Linked DNA regions of Homo sapiens: all the other regions are linked to region 3. Evidence: promoter capture Hi-C in human tissues and cell types (Jung and others, 2019). All regions are on one chromosome and are shown on one strand. Each heading gives the region's core, a stretch centred on a gene start or on the middle of the fragment in contact. The rest is flanking DNA. Distances are from core to core; before and after follow the strand shown.

Region 1 (4,328 bases), core at 192-2,691, 39 kb after region 3:
TTTGTTGCTGTTTTGGTTTGGTTTGCTTTTCAGACCTGCTCCTTCTGTAAGGAATCCAGTTCTTTCATGCAAGTTGAGACAAAGAAAAAGTATCCTATAGGCTACTTTTCCACAGAGAACTCTCTTCTAATGAGTAGGTCATAGTCAAACATTGTAAATCATACCATAAAACAAATAACTACGTTTGAGACTCAGCAGATGAAAGAAATGGAAGCCAAGGCTTAAAAAAGTAGAATAACCTGACAGAAATATTTACAAAGTATGTTTAAAATATGCACAGGGGTGAAGGAAGGATTATAAACCATCAGGGAAGAAAATAACAATTAGAAATTTTTTTTTCCAAGACAGCTGATTAGAGGGTTTTAGCATGTCTCAGCCACTTGGAAACAGCAAGATAGTACATAAAGATCAACTGTGAGCTTTAATTCAAGAAGGAAAATCAGAATCCACTGGAATTGTGAAAGATACTCCAGATCCCAGGGAGGAGAACACTGGCCCCATGATGGTGTCCAGCTGATAAAAGTGAGTGAAGCCCCAGTAGGTGAGAGAGGCAGAGAGCCTCCCTCTGTAACTCACCCTTCCACTGGGGCTCCAAGCACCCCAGGCTGAGAAAGAAAACTTTGTTCCTCCCAAGCTCTGGAGCTAACTTGGGGAGAGGCTTGGAGATGCTATGAGGGAAAGACATCAGGAAAAGCTGCAGTCAATTTCCCAGACCCAGTGTTGAGAGGAGGATGCCATTTTTAATCTAGGCACATGCAAAGTCAGCCATTCTTTGGCATCCTGGCAGTGTGGCCACGCAGACATGTTTGTCTCAGGCCAGAGACTGAAGTGCTTGCTCTGGAGTGAGATAGGGGCCTCCACAGGCCAGAGTTGTGGAAAGTGCCTCACCACTAGGCCCTGGAATTGTGTTCTTCCCTGTCACAGGCCTGTGGCAGGAGGAGAGCTGCTACAGTTATGGCTTCTCCTCGGCAACAAGGCTTGCAGCCAGGACCAGCTCGGTAACCTGGAACCAGTCTGTGTGTGCCATTGCTGGGTACCCTATCCTGCTCCCCTGAGAGGATAGCAGCAGGGCTCTCTCCACTCCACCGCCAGGCAGAACTCCAGGCATTCAGAGCACACATTTGCCTGGACCAGCAGCCTGAGCCTCCCACCCTTCCTGGAGCAGCAGGGCTCTTTCCCCTCTATGCTCAGGCAGATCACCAGGCATTCAGAGGTCAAAAAGGACAAAGGTCATTACATAATGATAAAGGCTCAACAAGAAGACTTAACTATTCTAAATATATATGTACTCAACATTGGAGCACCCAGATTCATTTAGGAAAAAAAAAAAACTACTTCTAGTATATAAAAAGACTATAAAAAGACTTACACAGCCACACAGTAATAGTGGGGAACTTGAACACCCCACTAACAGCATTAGACAAATCATTGAGGCAGAAAACTAACAAATACATTCTGGACTTAAATTCAAAACTTGACCTATCTAATCTAATAGATATTGACAAAATACCCCCACCCATCAACCACAGAATATATATATTCTTCTCATCTATACATGAAACATTCTCCAAGGTTGACCACATGCTCTGCCATAAAGCAAGTCTCAATACATTTTTTAAAAATGGAAATAATACCAACCATACTCTCAGATCACAGTGGAATAAAAACAGAAATCAATACAAAGAAGATCTCTCAAAGCACACTAATACATGGAAATTAAACAGCTTGCTCCTGAGTGACTTTTGGGTAAACAAATTAAGGCAGAAATAAAAAATACCTTGAAATAAATGAAAACAGGTATACCCAAATCTCTGGGATGCAGCAAAAGCAGTCTTAAGAGGAAAGTTCATAGCACTAAACACTTACCTCAAAAAATTAGAAAGACCCCAAATTAATGATCTAACATACACCTTGAGGAGCTAGAAAAACAAGAACAAACTAACCCCAAGGCTAGCAGAAGAAGAGGAATAACTAAAAAAAAAGAGTAGAACTGAATGAAATTGAGACCCAAAAATTCACACAAAGAATCAATGAAATCAAAAGTTGATCCTTTGAAAGGATAAACAAAATCAATAGACTGCTTGCTAGATTAACAAAGAAAAAGAAAGATCCAAATCAGCACAATCAGAAATGACAAAGGCGACATTACAATTGAGCCTACAGAAATACAAAAGATTCTCAGAGACTACTATGAACTCCTCTATGCTCACAAACTAGAAGATCTAGAGGAAATTGATAAATTCCTGGAAACATACAACCTGCCAAGATTGAATTAGAAAGAAATTGAAACCCTGAACAGACCAATACTGAGTTTCATAGTTGAATCAGTAATAATAAAAAAAAAGACCTACCAACCGAACAAAGCACCAGAGCAGACAGATTCACGGACAAATACTGCTAGACGTACAAAGAAGAGCTGGTACTAATTCTACTGAAACTATTCCAAAAAATCAAGGAGGAAGGACTCCTTCCTAACTCATTGTATGAAGCCAACATCACCCTGAAACCAAAACCTGGCAGAGACACAGCAAAAAAAGAAGACTGCAGGCCAATATCCCTGATGAACATAGATACAGAAATCCTTAACGAAATGCTAGCAGACCAAATCCAGCAGCACATCAAAAAGTTAATTCACCACAATCAACTAGTCTTCATTCCTGGGATACAAGGCTGGTTCAACATATGCAAATCAAATGTGATTTACCACATAAACAGAATTAAAAACAAAAGCATTATGATTATTTCAATAGATACAGAAAAAGCCTTGGATAAAACCTAACATCCTTTACTGAAAAAAACCCTCAGCAAACTACCCATGAAAGGAACATATCTCAAGATAATAAGAGCCATCTATGACAAATGCACAGCCGACATCATGCTGAATGGGCAAAAGCTGGAAGCATTCCCCTTGAGAAGTGGAACAAGACAAGGATGCCTACTCTCACCACTCCTACTCAACATAGTATTGGAATTCCTTGCCAGAGCAATCGGAAGAGAAAAAAATCAAAAGCATCCAAATAGGAAAAGAAGAAGTGAAACTATCTCTTGTTGCTGACCATATGATTCTATACTTAGAAAGTCCCAAAGACTCTGCCAAAAGGCTCCTGGAACTGATAAATAACTTCAGTAAAGTTTCAGGATACAAAATCAACGTACAAATATCAGTAGCATTTCTATACACCAATATTGTTCAGGCTGAAAGCCAAATCAAGAACACAGTCCATTTATAATATCCACAAAAAAATAAAATACCTACGAATACATCTAACCAAGGAGGTAAAAGATCTCTACAAGAAGAACTGCAAAACACTGATGAAAGAAATCATAGATGACACAAACAAATGGAAAAATATTCCATACTCATAAATTGGTAGAATAAATACTATTAAAATGGCCACACTGCCGAAAGCAATCTACAGATTCAATATTCCTATCAAACTACCAATGTCATTTTTCACAGAATTAGAAAAAAATTCTAAAATTCATATGCAACAGAAAAGTGCCCAAATAGCCAAAGCAATCCTAAGCAAAAACAAAAACAAAAAGCCAAAGGAATCACATTACCTGACTTCAAACTATACTATAAGGTCACAGTAACCAAAACAGCATGGTACTGGTACAAAAACAGACACATAGACCAATGGAACAGAATAGAGACCCCAGAAATAAAGCCTCACACCTACAGCCATCTGATCTTTGACAAAGTTGACGAAAATAAGCAATGAGGAAAGGACTCCCTATTCAACAAATGATGCTAGGATAGCTGGCTAGCCATATGCGGAGGAATGAAACTATACCCCCACATTTCACCATATACAAAAATTAACTCAAGATAGAGTAAAGATTTAAATGTAAGACCTCAAACTGTAAGAATCTTAGAAGAAAACCTAGGAAACACCATTCTGGACATTGGCCTTGGGAAAGAATTTATAACTCAGTCCTCCAAGCAATTGCAACAAAACCAAAAATTGACAAGTAGGATGTAATTAAACCAAAGAGCTTCTATAGAGCAAAAGAAACTATTAACAGAGTAAACAGGCAACCAACAGAATGGGAGAAAATATTCACAAACTATGCATCAGACAAGGGTCTAATATCCAGAATCTATAAGGAATTTGAATAGTTCAATAAGCAAAAAACAAATAACCCTGGCCAGGCACAGTGTGTCACATTTGTAATCCTAGAAATTTGGGTGGCCAAGATGGGTGGATCTCTGAGCCCAGGAGTTTGAGACCAGGCTGGGCAACATGGCAAGACCCCTTCTCAACAAAAAATTCAAAAATTAACCAGGCATGGTGGTGTGTGCCTGTAGTCCCAGCTACTCAGAT
Region 2 (4,371 bases), core at 1,453-3,952, 38 kb before region 3:
TAAATTCCTAATAATTATTATGAAAATCATGCACCCTACCCAAATATCCCAGGAGTAAATGAACCAGTGAATTAATTTGTATCTTATTAACCAGTTCAAATTACTCTTGCCCATTCTCTAAATATATGGAAGTAATTTCTTCTTGCATTGAATAATTCACTTTCACATTCATTGATTTGTTTTAATACCTAGGATGCAGAACAGGTATTATGGATGAATAAATAGAATTCTTAAAAATTCAGATCCTGCTGCTGACTAGATAGGTGAACTTGGGCAAGCTGTTACACCATTCTGAGGCTTATGCATACAGGAAATATTTATCTGCAGGTTCATTTTAAAAGTTAAATATTATGTAAATAAAGTGCCAGGAGAGTGTCTAGCAAATAGTAAGTCCCAAATGTATTCTATAATTTTTTTTTTTGTTATAAATGGGGTCTCAAGGTCACATACTAAGTGCAGAGCCACTCATGTACTTGTTTCATTACTCCTAATCTGGAGCTTTTTGTTTCATTATGCTGGTTCTAGGTAAGTAGAAGGATAGGTGAGATGTTAGAGTGGTTGGTTGAGGGGACCTCAGAGAAGAGACCTTTAAGAAGGAAGAGGTGATATCTTAACTGAGAATGTTAGGCCAATGTCTCTGGTTCCTTTTGGCTAAAGGCTCAGAAAGGAGAAATGCCCCCAAGCTGGTATTTAATTTATATTTATATTTGAGCAGAAATGCTTCCAAACTGATATTTCATTTTATGTTTATGTCTATATATGATTTACATTTATATTATATGATAATTATACATTTGTTCAAATGTGATTACTACTTTTTTATGCTATATTGTAAACTGCAAAATTATGTGTTTTTATAAACACATTAAACACAATAAACAATAATGTGTTTTTATAAGTTAATCCCATGTTTTCTTATCCAGTTTATCTCAAGTTGAAGAACATCTGAGGTCAGAAAGTAGTAGTGGATCCATAGGAGAAGCATAGTACATCTTTTCCAGGGTGTTAATTTTACTTAAAAATAGTGTAGTAACATAGCATAACTTTTACACTAAAATAAATAAAAGCATATTATGGTGTAAAACAAAATTTACATATTTTAAAATAAAATCTGAAGCTTTGACAAATTTTATGACTATAGAATGATCCTTGTGCTAATGTTCACTCTAAGAGATATTTTGGTGGAATATCTTGAGAAATAGTTGGGAGATTAATAATTTGGGGAAAAATATTTTCTGTTTTTATTCCAGTGTTCTTTTTTTATTTTACAAAGTCGAATTTTTAAAATTTACATTCTTTCTTGTAATCGAATAATCTCTTTAGTTTTAAGATTATCTTGCCAGAAATTTAAGGAAAATAAAAAGTGCTTTGACATCTTCTGGAGCATTAACAGAGACTCAAAATATCATATTTGCTATTCTGTAGGTAATGTGTGTGTGTATATATATATATATATATATATACATATATATACTTTTTCTGATTTATGTTCAAGTAGTTTGAAGTAAAGCTATATTAGTTACATTGTAACATTTTCCAATTGAATTGCAATGACGTCTTTTAGATGTTTAGTGAAAGACTGTTAAAATTTCATCGAAGTAAGGGGAAAAATATCAATTTTTCCTTATAGTAATTTTTTTGTACCTATAAACGTATACCTATTGCTGCCTTATAAAGTTCAACATATCCTCCAGGGGGCAGTAGATGCAATAGTAAATGTATTTATGTTATGCAAATGCAAATGACATGTGGAGAAGTAATGAGATGGGAAGGCAGCATTCTGACACCATGGTGGTCATGCTGGAGTCATTGTCGCTGGACAGCGTCCTGGTAAATGTGTCTTCCTAGGGATGTGAGTCTAGATCAAGCAGTTTGGCTGGAATGCACTTGGAATCTTAAAAGCTCTTTTGAGTGAGAAATCATCAAGGTAAGATTTGCAGAACCAGTATATATATATATATGTGTGTGTGTGTATATATATATATGTGTGTGTGTATATCTATACACACATATATATGTGTGTGTATATATATATATATACATATATATTTTTTCATTTTTCAAGAATTCCCGGTTCATTTCACTCTATACAAGGGAATAGACAAGTAAAGTCATATTTATATATACTCATTGCAACTGTAGAATGGGCACAAATCCTATACAATGCTAAACTGTGCTGAGGATATCTAGGCTGCATGTCCTAAGAGAAAGTGTATGTTCAAAATTATGTCATTGAAGACCAGCACACATATATCATTTGTTCAGGACCTAGGACACAGTCTAGGCTGGAGAAACCCTGATTGGGTACTTGAATTCACTCTGGCTGATTCTAGGGTAAACTGTAAGCCTCCAAGGCAGCCTGAGGAGTCCTATATATTCTAAAATATTTGGTTCTAATCCAATATACACCTAATATTTCAGTCCTTCATTGTTTCTAACCTATTCTATTGATGTGCCATATCTATGTGTCTTTTGCCTCCTTGTGAAGGAAAATCTCTAAATATATTTATAATCACTTTAAATAGCTGTCTAATGCTAGTTGATCTGTATTCACTGCTTATTCAACATCTCAAAATAGAATTGATTTTCTTAGAATGAAACCTGCTCCTTTTAAAGCATTTTCAATCTCAATTCTTGACATCACTGTCTATCTAGCTGTTCAAGGAGGAGGTATATTGTTTTTAGACACCTCTTTGCATTTTAGCTTTCATATCACATTGATCACTAAGATTTACCAGTTTTATCTCCCACATGTCCATTCAGGCCAGCAACCTCATACTTAATGTCCCTGCTTCTAGTCTTGCCTCATTTTCATTAATGCTGTTTGCTAATACAGGGTGTTCTTTCTAAAAGTAGTTGGACTATTTTTAAGTTTCAGTTCTTTGAATTATACACAATTTGTTACAGGATAAGTTTCAAAAATTTTTAGCAGAGCATACAAGGTGTTTCAGGATCTGTCTCTGGTTGCCTTCAGATCCTCATCTCCTCTGCCCATTCTCCATCCCCCCACATCATGTGTGCACAATGAACTGAATATTTTCATGCAGTTTGAGAACATTCACATATGATAAATTAAATTTACTCATCTTGGGGTAGATTTCTATAAATTTTGACAATTACATATAGTAATGTAACCACAACAGTAATTGAGATACAGAAAAGTTTCATCATCCTAAAAAAGCACCTCATGCCATCCCTTTGTAATAAAGCTCTTTGTAGTCTAAGCTTTAGAGCTGAGCCCATGCTTTTCTTGGGAAGCCACAGCCAATGACTGAGCATGGTGCAGACACAAAGTCCTGGCCATTTCTGCGCAATACCAGACTTTGCTAATGGGCAGTATTTGCTGTGGAGATGCCATCGATATAACTGAAACTCTGTCAGATCTTCATGATAATCTGAGGCTCTCTTTGCCCAATCTTTATCCCCAAGCACTGGTGAATTCTGGTCTGTGTTTAGTCCCTATAGCTTTACCTTTAACAGAATGTCAAATAAATGGAGCTGTACAGTATATAGCCTTTTAAATCTCTTTCACTTAGCATAAAGGATTTAAGATTTATTCATATCGTAGTTCTCAATCATTTATATTTACCCCAAGCAAGACAGTCACTCCCACTAACTTCTCATGTCTTCATGACTTTGAGCATTCTTTTGTTTCTGAAATTCCTCGTTAAACTGCTGAACATCTGCTCATTTTAAAAAAATACAAACATCTTCAGCTCATTTGTCATTAAACATGACTACTTCAGGCCAACTTAGATATTATTTTTTCTATAATACTACATTGCATTGCAGTGATTTGTGTAGTTGCTTGTTTCTTCTACTCCAGGGATGGGTAAACTACAGCATGTGGGCTATGTCCACAGGCCAAATCAGCTCACTCCACCAATCTGCCCCCCAGCTTTATGTGACAGAGATAGTATGTGGCCTACAAAACCTAAAAGATTTGTCAAATAGCTCTTTACAGAGAAAATTTGGCATCTCCTACTCCACTTGACTATGAAATCTTTGCATCCCCACAATGTAACTTTATCAGTTAGGGGCTTGGTTAGGAAAACAGAAACGATGTTACATATTTTAACACAGAAAGTTTTAATATAATGATATGGTTATAAAAATGTTAGAAGGGTGGGAGAAGCATATAGGAAATGTATTAACCAGAGCCCTGGAACCAAAACTCCTATTGTCCTTATAAGAGCTGGAAATCAGCACTTCTGCTTTGCAGCTACCAAAAGTAAACAAAAAAGAATGGCTCCTATCTTCTTTCTTCTTTCTAATCTGATGTGAGTACCTCCAAATGACAGAATCTACCAGAAATCAGTTGGCAATGAAGTCTGAGAAACATCATTTTCAAGTTACTACTCCCAGTAGTTC
Region 3 (4,379 bases), core at 1,119-3,618:
TATTGTATTGTATTTTAGAGCTAAATTTAAAGAAGCAACATTTGGGTTTTCCATCCACTTGCATTAGAAAATCAGCTATAAATGAATAAGAAAAGAAAAGTTGCTGAAATTATTTCCCATTAACAAAACCCCTCCATATTAATAGTTGAGCATTTTTTTAAATTAAGATAATGTATGCCTATGCAGTCTTTTAAAATGAAATACCGTGTGGAACTTTATAACTCAAAAAAATGTCAAAGAAAATAATTACCCTAGCTTTTCAGAATTTTTCAGACGTATGTATTTTCAGCTGTTCATCAGGAATCTATTCCCCTTCCAGAGAACTATGGACAAAGGAAGGTTCTATGAAGTAATGAACGCTGAATGAAATTTTAAAATGATGATGATTAGAGAGAACAAGAGACACTGTGGAGGAACAACCACTTAGAATTCTTTGGGAATCTGAGTAGTTACACTTACTGAGCAGCTGTACCAATCAGTCTGGAAGAAGGAACCCTTCCCCCAGGCCTGAATTACCTGGGGACAAGACACACTGAGCAACTTACTGAGCCTCAGGAATTAGTAGAAAACACAGTACATCTGTTACATTTTGGCTTTGGAATAACCTTTTAAAGGAGCAAAACTAAGCAGATAATTAACACAAAAATTTTGATGTTATATTCAGGCTATCTGAAAAGTTCGAAAGTATTGTCTTTAGGGCCAGGCTGTCATGTAAGCACAAGCACTAACAATTTCTTTTATTTTGGTTTTCCAAAATTGTCTATAAAAGGTAAATCTGCTCCAGACCTATTTGATAGCAGAGTCTTAAATGGAAATTCTTTGCTGCATTGTAACCTGATTACTTAATAAGGGAAATAATATTTTAAAACTGTTTGGAGTCTTGTTTAAAGTATATAAAGCATTGTATTAAAGCAAGATAACAGGTAACACAAAATTTTTCTTGCCATGCCTTCTCTGTCAAGGTGCCTGTTTCTCTTTCCTGGAGAAAGTATTCTTTTGAGCTGACTGCAAAAGGAATTGTATGAAATATGTTATCTGTCAGAAGCAGTGTAGATACTACAGGTAAAAGCCCTCCCTCTCAGGAAGAATAAAATATTTTAGAAGGTTATTAAGCACTGTGCCTGCTTGGAAGTACACAAACTGGGTACTCTCAATAATAGTACTATGGTCAAGGTACAAGGAGGACTTTGTGAGCCATAACCTACCCAATTAAAATGTTTATTTCTTAGGCATTTTCTAATATTTAGTTCATGATGATTATTATGCTATGTTTACTTCATTATTGTTCTTACTAACACATTAAGATATTTAATTTTTGCATATTCTTCAGTGTAATAGCTCTCAAAATTAAATTTTTAACTGTGAAGAACAAAAAAATTACTGAGAGAGTTTCAAATAACAGAAATCACTTGAGGTTTTCAGCAGTGCTCAAGTAAGCTTAAACATCCAGCAAGTTTCTTTTTTTTTTTCTGTTATTAGTGAAAAAAACTTATTTTACACAACTAAATACAATTCTAAAATCTAATGTAAGTTTTAAACACTGCTTGTAGTATCTCCCAGTCCTTGCCTTGGTGGTATTATTGTGAAAGCATAAGCATGCTATCTATATTTGCCTTATTAAATTAATGCTATGCAAGTACTTTATTTTTTAGTTTTTTGTCTCTATAAGAAAACAAATAATGCAGCAGATTTTTGTCTCATTAATATATTCTCATGCAATCTTGAAAAAGAGAAACTCTTTTCCTTTCTACTTACATACAGGCCAACAGCTTGTTTAAAAGAGCCTGAAAATAGATCTGTTTCTCATAAACACTAGAACAACAGTCAGCAGAACTGTTGATATACACTAATAGGACTACTTACACTCTGTAGGCATGGTAATGATTGTTTCCGTTGTAGCGTGATAATCGTCATCTTCCAAAGAGCCATCGCTGCTGTCATCCCTCTGGACATCATACTGATCAATCAGTTCCCGGAGTGGAGGAGCTTTGGGTAAAAGTTGTCTTATAACATCTTTGCTGATGTTAGGAGCTGTTTCCAGACGAAGTTTACTGAGGATTTGTATCTTAATGGCTTCTATTCTTGAAGATTTAGTGTTTTGTCTCCAAGTACATGCATTACACAGCCCCTCTTTTTCCACATTTTCTTTTTGCTCACTGTTCTCATTTAGATCCACTGGACCAGCAACAATCAGCATAAACAGGTAAATATAAACACAGAGTTGCAGTTTTTGCATGATTTTAAAATCAATATAATCTTTTTTCTTGTTCTTGTTTCTTCCTTTTACTTTTCTTTTGCTTTTGAGTAATGCCAAGCAAAATTTTAATGCATGTACAGTCTGAGAGACAACTTGCCACACCAGTGAATCTTTTATACTGTATTCCAAGTGGCTTTTTATATTCCAACTTAGATGAGACAAGTGTCGTCAGGATCTATGATTGGCTCTTGCTCCACAATGAATCTCGCTGTCAGAGGTTAAAACCCTGTCTGTCCCAAGTCACCAAGCAGTATTTTGTTACAGTCAAGGGTGAGCTGATTCATTTGACTACTTCATAAAAGAAATAAATCTACAAATAATAAAAGATATTTGTGACATTTGAAAAACAAAAGTCTATGTTGGCAATAATATAAACTGTACTTAAATCTTACTAATCCTCACACAACTCTTATTGTAATTTAAATAAGTCAATTTTAATTTATACTACATATTTAAAATATGAAATATTACTTCCTCAAAAACTAAAATGATTTTATATTGTTTAGGCAAGTATTTGAAGTAGAAAATATTTTTATTTGTTGTATTAAATTATTTTTAGTGCCAAGTAATTAGGAAAATAAAAATTAGGAAGACCTGAATTAAAAGTTAAGATTATGATACTAGTTGAGAATTTTCATCTATAATTTGAGAAACTTGTTTTCTGACTAAATTCTTAGTAAATATTGGAAGTCATTGTTATTATAACATATTGTGCATGGAATTATTTTTACATAGTTTCATGTCTTTTATTAATATGAAAATTATACTGAACTTTTGACTGAGTGCTATTATTTCCTATTCTAAAGATGCAGATTAACATAACTCAGAAGATGTGTTTTTCATTGTTTATTACCAAGAGGGTAATGCCAGCTAGTAGAAAAATCTCTGAACATAGACTAAGATAATGAATTTTATAACTGGCATGGCAGAGATTATTACAGTTTGCCTCAGATTTCCAGCAGTAAATATCCAGAGAGTAAAAAGTGCAGTATCTATTCTCTATAAATTATATCAGAATATTATGAGCACATAAAAGAGAAAGAGCATCATGATAAAGGGGTGACCTTTTGTTGTTTCCCAATACTGCGATATGTTTGCACCCCTTTGCCAATTTCTCATTTTGACCAGAGGGCAGACACCTGGCAGGGATTTGGGGTAAAGTCTGGGAGCAGAGAATAGAGCTTTTTGTTCTCTAAATTTAAGTGGCCTCTGTAGGGATCAAACGTTCAACCTTAGCTTTGGGAGCCACAAGATCTAGTCAAATGAACTATTAAAGAGCTAAGCAAACATAGCCAGCAAGAAACAGAAGATATTTCTAGGCCAAAGGAGATTTCTTTTTCCTACTCCTTTTTGGGAAGCTAAGGATTCCTAAGAGATTTAGTCCATTACTTTTTTTTTCCAAGAGAATACAGTGGCTCATATCAAATATTTATTTTTAAAGTCACTACCATTTTTGCACACTGTACACTAATTTACTGCCTCGGTGCACTAAAATGCAACTCAGTAGCCTGAAAAGTTAATGCATTTTCATCAAATTCTTAAGAGGTATCTACATCTCTTGAGAAAAAAATGGCCTTACATAATGCATTGGATTTGCTCATCATTAAAGATTAAGGAAAACCAGACACAAACCAGATGCCCTGAGGATTTCAGATACTCTTTGTTATGGGACAATATTAGATCTGGCTTCTAAGGTTTTATTTGTTTGGTAAATTCATTTTTCAATGTGTAAATCTTTCAAATGTTATGATCATTGTAACACATGCATCTATACAGTTCCAAGTAAGTCAAACTTTTTTTTTAATATGCTTAGAATTGTATAGCAGTTGAATTGAGAACTCAGGCTCTGGAGTCAGATAGACCTGAGTTCAAATCTCAACTTTGCCACTTCTAACTATGTGATAATGGATGAGATACTTAACTTCCCTAAACTTTAGCTTCCTCATAGGGTTTTGGGGGGATATAATTTAATAATGCATGTAAATTGCTGAATATGGCACCTGTCATATAGTAAGTAATTGATAACTGGCATTTGAGTGCTTGCTCTTTGTTTTATGCAGAAGGGTTTGAGATTATGCTTAAAATTATGCTCCACATGAACTAGAACTGCTTCAGGTCATAG

What was found. Contacts are between HindIII fragments. The study calls those that stand out against the background at their distance.
Region 1: a fragment that was not itself captured here is called in contact with the fragment with the promoter of MSTN in region 3 in 1 of the 25 tissues and cell types used here (psoas muscle).
Region 2: a fragment that was not itself captured here is called in contact with the fragment with the promoter of MSTN in region 3 in 1 of the 25 tissues and cell types used here (hippocampus).

What each region holds. Positions count from the first base shown.
Region 1 is chr2:190,100,359-190,104,686 of GRCh38, forward strand. It overlaps a transcript of AKAP19 not described here. Among named protein-coding and RNA genes, the nearest start is that of MSTN, 40 kb to the left of the region's middle. The HindIII fragment of the contact is 6,604 bases long and covers 1-4,328 here.
Region 2 is chr2:190,022,357-190,026,727 of GRCh38, forward strand. It overlaps a transcript of AKAP19 not described here. Among named protein-coding and RNA genes, the nearest start is that of MSTN, 38 kb to the right of the region's middle. The HindIII fragment of the contact is 5,055 bases long and covers 176-4,371 here.
Region 3 is chr2:190,060,361-190,064,739 of GRCh38, forward strand. MSTN (myostatin) reads right to left here and starts at 2,369. Exons shown (of 3, transcript NM_005259.3): 1 at 1,864-2,369; 2 at 1-75. The coding sequence starts at 2,236. It also overlaps a transcript of AKAP19 not described here. The HindIII fragment of the contact is 12,121 bases long and covers 601-4,379 here.